2 separate regions of the Homo sapiens genome follow, and region 2 is linked to region 1. The links are contacts of gene promoters, found by promoter capture Hi-C in human tissues and cell types (Jung and others, 2019). All regions are on one chromosome and are shown on one strand. The core of a region is centred on a gene start or on the middle of the fragment in contact, and the rest is flanking DNA. Distances in the headings are between cores, read along the strand shown. Region 1 overlaps RFX2 (regulatory factor X2). Region 2 holds the start of ACER1 (alkaline ceramidase 1).

The links. Contacts are between HindIII fragments. The study calls those that stand out against the background at their distance.
Region 2: the fragment with the promoter of ACER1 here is called in contact with a fragment that was not itself captured in region 1 in 1 of the 25 tissues and cell types used here (dorsolateral prefrontal cortex).

What each region holds. Positions count from the first base shown.
Region 1 is chr19:6,042,492-6,045,191 of GRCh38, reverse strand. It overlaps RFX2 (regulatory factor X2), which reads left to right. Exons shown (of 18, transcript NM_000635.4): 3 at 910-999. Among named protein-coding and RNA genes, the nearest start is that of RFX2-AS1, 19 kb to the left of the region's middle. The HindIII fragment of the contact is 4,983 bases long and covers 1-2,700 here.
Region 2 is chr19:6,332,165-6,334,864 of GRCh38, reverse strand. ACER1 (alkaline ceramidase 1) reads left to right here and starts at 1,253. Exons shown (of 6, transcript NM_133492.3): 1 at 1,253-1,406. The coding sequence starts at 1,314. The HindIII fragment of the contact is 13,348 bases long and covers 1-2,700 here.

The DNA.
Region 1 (2,700 bases), core at 30-2,529:
CATCCTTAGCTCCACTCCTGCAACACAGGGGATGGCGTGTCCTCACCCATCACCCCTCGTGATGTATATATGGCAGTCACTGCTACCTGTGACATTCAGGGTTCATGCCGGGAAATCACAGCACTGCAGCCAATGACTCCGAAAGCCCCAGCTCTCAATAAACACACAAAACACTCCTGTTCCTCCCTCGACTCGAGTTCACTTTGACCCTTCCCATTTTGATAGCTTTGTGTGGCCAATCGGTACTCCCAGAAAAATAGCAAAGCCACACTGTGCAGATTTGACTTAGGAGGCTGGAGAGCAGTGGGGTCAGAGAGCGAGGGACCCAGACACAGGGCACCTGGACTCGAGTATTCTGTAGCCAGAGGCAGCACTTGAGCCCTCTGGCTTCATTAACCTCATCAGAAAATGGAAACAAGTCCGGGTTATACTGCAGAAGCGAGGGGCGCCACAGAGTGCTCTCCCACGCAGTGGTGCGGATGGCTATCCAGAGGGCCCCAGCAGTCCCCTCTGTACTAGGGACGATCAGTGTCACCTTGCTGCAGACTACAGACCCACAGAGGCAAAGCTGCCTGGGCGGGTGAAGGTGCATGTGCTTCCGTGTATGTGTGTGTGCATACGTGTGTGTGTGCCCACAATTCGTGCATATGTGTGGTGCATGGGCTGAGTGTATGTGCACACTTGTGTATGTATGTGCATTGTTTGTGTGCCTGCACGTACCTGCCGTGTGTCTGCCCAGGTCGGTGTGAGTGTGCAAGTCTGACCATCACCCCGCCGTCGCCTCTGATCAGTCCTGCCTATGTTTTAATAAAAAGCACATGAACAGACAAACAGCATCTTACATTCTGTGTGTATCCTCAGCACTGACCTCTGACAAGTCTAACTGGCCTTCTCTCCCTTCCCTTTTAGAGGGTGTTGGTCCAGGCAGCCAGCTCCAATCCCAAAGGGGCCCAGATGCAGCCGATCTCCCTCCCCAGAGTTCAGCAGGTACCCCAGCAGGTAATGACAAGCACCGCAGCACCGTGCAAACCGGGGCGCAGTTAGCACTCAGCAATCCAGAACAATCTCTGAAGGATGCATCCTTTTCTGTGGCTGCTGTTCCTTGTTGTAAGCTTCAGTTTCTTAGCCAAAAGACTTTTCCAGAAGCTGTGCAATTTTAAAAAAATCATTTACTGCAGATAGTTTTGCAGAAAGCCAAGAAAGCTGGTGATCTTTCGTTCATTCAGAAATTCAGCAAGCATTTGGGGAACCAGTGAGCACCCCGCACCTGCTGGGTGGAGCTCAGGTAGAAATGCAGACAGAAACAAAGGGCTCTGGACTGGAGGAACCATCTGCTAGTGAGTGCCATACCCTCAGATGCGGGCACAACAGAGGAAATGCTTCTTATGATTTCAATTATCTAAGAACAAAGTTTGAAAGCACGGCTGACCAGCCAAGTAGCAACACAGATCATCAGCTTGGGGACACTCTAGAAGCATGGTTAGCAAACTGTTTCCAGAAAAGGCCAAATTATACATTTTTGGGGGTTTGTGGTCCAGGCAGTCTCTGGAACAACCACTCAATTCTGCCATTGTATCGCAAAAGCAGCCATAAATGATATGCAACCAAATGGGTGTGGCTGTGTGCCAATAAAACTTTATTTACAAAAACAGGCAGTGGGCCAGATTTGGCCCTCAGGGCCGGAGTTTGCCAACTGTGCCCTGCAGAATCCTGAATTAAAGTTAACTCAGGCTCCTCCCTAAAAGGAGCCCTGAGGCCCTAGAGAATGCACCGCTCTTCAGGAGGGTCCTGCCTAGATTGGCAGTCTGTTCACAGGCATTTGTCAGGTGACTGTGTCCATGAGAACTAGGAAGGTTTGCAGGATCACAGGAAGGAAAAGGCTCCAGACAGGCCCAGCGGGGACGCAGGGCCTCAGGCCAGTGGCTCTGTCTTAGCTGCTGTCTGTCAAGGCACTCCCCAGAGACACCAAGGAGAGGAGATTCCAGAAGCTTCCACCACTTTTCTGGTGCTGGGCCTGCCCCAGCTCTTTCTGTAACTTCTGCATTTCACTTGGACCCCAGAATTCGACATTTGACTTCCACCCCTGGGGCATCACCCAACAGATGTTAACCCCTGGAACTTGTGATTCTGGGGGTGGTGCGTTGGACAAGTGCATACCATGCTCAGTGGTCCAAGGAGGGGCAGGTCAGCCCCATCCTGCAGCTTCAAGCACAAGAGGAAGGTCACCATGACACCATGACACCCGAACAAGCCCACTTCTGTGGCCCTCCATCTTCTCACCCCAAAATTCAGTGGATGTAGACAGCCACTAAGATGCCCTCTGGGGTGAGAGTTTGAAGTCCCATGTGCAAAGCGTTTGGCTTCCACTGCTCGGACTAGAGTCCCTCGGGGCCTGTCAGCCGAGGCTCTGAACTGATGTTTCAGAGAGGGGAGGGCAGGGCAGCGGGGGTGTGCTGGGGTCCCCCCATTGCCCCATCTCTCCAGGCATGCCGCTCCTTCCCACTCTGTTCAGACCATCACATTCTCTCCCCTCCTCTCTGCCAGGGAAGGGGCACCAGGGCCACCCACGGGGGGTGTTGGGGCCATGTAGAGTCTAATCTGCTCAGCCCCCTGTGCACTGCAGCCTGCACGCCAGCTTGAGCTACAGAGGGAGACCCTGTCGCAAAAAAACAAACAAACAAACAAAAAAAAAAAACAGAA
Region 2 (2,700 bases), core at 4-2,503, 290 kb before region 1:
GACTCCATCTCAAAAAAAAAAAGAAAACCCATTACCATCCATCAAGTGCCTACTCTAGCATAGGCAGTGGGCTAAGCCTTTGTACATGCTTTATCTCTGTCTTCCTTTGTTACAGTTGGCTCTGTCACCATCGTCTCCATATGACAGGTGAGCAAACAGAGGATCAGAGAGGTAAATTCACTTGCCCAAGGTCACACAGCTTAAAGTAGAGGAACTCAGGCCAGGTGAGGTGGCTCATGCGTATAATCCCGGCACCTTGGGAGGCCAAGGTGGGCAGATCACCTGAGGTCAGGAGTTCGAGACCAGCTTGACCAACATGGTGAAATCCTATCTCTACTAAAATACAAAAAAAATTAGCTGGGCATGGTGGCAGGTGCCAGTCATCCCAGCTACTTGGGAGGCTGAGGTAGGAGAATCGCTTGAACCCAGGAGGTGGAGGTTGCAGTGAGCTGACATTGCGCCACTACACTCCAGCCTGGGTGACAGAGCCAGACTGCATCTCAATTTTAAAAAAAAAGGCCGGGCACGGTGGCTCACGCACACCTATAATCCCAGCACTTTGGGAGGCCAAGGCAGGTGGATCACGAGGTCAGGAGATCGAGACCATCCTGGCTAACACAGTGAAACTCCATCTCTATTAAAAATACAAAAAATTAGCCGGTCGTGGCGGTGGGCGCCTGTAGTCCCAGCTACTCGGGAGGCTGAGGCGGGAGAATGGCGTGAACACGGGAGGCAGAGCTTGCAGTGAGCTGAGATCATGCCACTGCACTCCAGCCTGGGCAACAGAGCGACTCTGTCTCCAAAAAAAAAAACAATTAGCTAGGCATGGTGGCAGCATGTGCCTGTGGTCCTGGCTACTTCAGAGGCTGAGGCAGGAGTATTGCTTGAGCCTGGGAGTTTGAGGCTGCGGTGAGCTATGATGATGCCACTGTACCCCAGCCTGAGCAACAGAGCAAGGCCCTGACTCTAATAAATAAATACATACATACATAAAAGATAAAAACAGTTCCCTCCACTGCCCCCACCCCGATTCCTATTCCTGGGTAATCTGGATGGGAGGCCTCTTCCCTGCCTACTTCTGCCCCCTGCCCTGCCTGGACAGTGCCAGTCCCACGGCTTATGCTCAGGGCTGCTGTCACTGCACAGCCAGGCTGCCCTGGTGCAACTGGGGAGCGGCCCAGCAGGTTTTTCCTCCCAGTCTGCCTGCCGCGGGGCACCGGGCTGTCCTCTCCCCGCCTCATCAGGGCCCAGCCTTCCCAAGCTCGCCTTCTCTCTGCCGGGCGCAGCCGGCTGGTGGTGGCCACTGAGACAAGATGCCTAGCATCTTCGCCTATCAGAGCTCCGAGGTGGACTGGTGTGAGAGCAACTTCCAGTACTCGGAGCTGGTGGCCGAGTTCTACAACACGGTGAGTGCGTGGGTGTGTGAAGGAGTCTCGCCAGATGCCGGTTCGAATCCCGGTTCCTCCCCATACAGCCTTACTGGGGAATCTTGCTGGAGTGGTTCACCTGTCTCAGCCCTAGTTTTCTCATCTGTTAGCCAAAGAGTGCCAGCTTTCATTCATTTACTTGTCTTTACTTGATGCCAAGCTCTGTGGTAGGTTTTGGAGACACATTGGTGGCCAGGAAAAGAACCGGTCTCTGCCTTCCCTAAGCTAACTCTGATGTGACTGCAGGCATTTGCAACCGGGAGCGATGGTGCCTTCTTGGAGGGCACAGAGGCAGCTGTGGTAGGGGGAGGCAGAGGGTGCCCCTGAGCTAGAGGGGGTGGGCCAATCAGGAAAGGCTTCCTGGAAGAGGTGATTGTGTCTGTCTTGTTTGCAGCTGTACCCACTGACCAACTTGTCCCAGTGTGCCTGGGACTATCCTGGTTTCAGTATTTAAAAAGTTTCACCTCTTGGCTGGGCGCGGTGGCTCACGTCTGTAATCCTAGCACTTTGGAAGGCCAAGGTGGGTGGATTGCCTGAGCTCAGGAGTTGGAGATCGCCCTGGGCAACGTGGTGAAAGCCCATCTCTACTAAAATAAAAAATTAGCTGGGTACGGTGTCAGGCATCTGTAGTCCAAGCTACTCAGGAGGCTACGGCATGAGAATCGCTTGAACCCAGGAGGCGGAGGTTGCAGTGAGCTGAGATTGTGCCACTGCACTCCAGCCTGGGTGAAAAAGCGAGACTGTCTCAAAAAAAGAAGAAAAAAAGTCCCACCTCCTGAGAAACTCCTCAGTTCTGGACATTCTGAGGTGGTCTTCTCTTTCCCTGTTAAAACACCACATGGGAAGTGCTAAAAAATCATGGATGTACCTAGCACCATGGCTCATGCCTGTAACCCCAGCAATTTGGAACGCAGAGGCAGGAAGATCGCTTGAGCCCAGGAGTTCCAGACCAGCCTGGGCAACATAGCAAGACCCTGTCTCTACAAAAAGTTTTTAAAAATTAGCTGGGTGTGGTGGTGTGTGCTTGTAGTTCCAGCTACTTGGGAGGCTGAGGGGGGAGGATTTCTTGAACCCAAGAAGTGGAGGATGCAGTGAGCTGAGGTCATACCACTGCACTCCAGCCTGGGTGACAGAGGGAGACCCTGTCTCAAAAAAAAAAAAAAAAAAAAAAGGCCGGGCGCGGAGGCTCACGCCTGTAATCACAGCACTTTGCGAGGCCAAGGTGAGTGGATCACCTGAGGTCAGGAGTTCGAGACCAGCCTGGCCAACATGG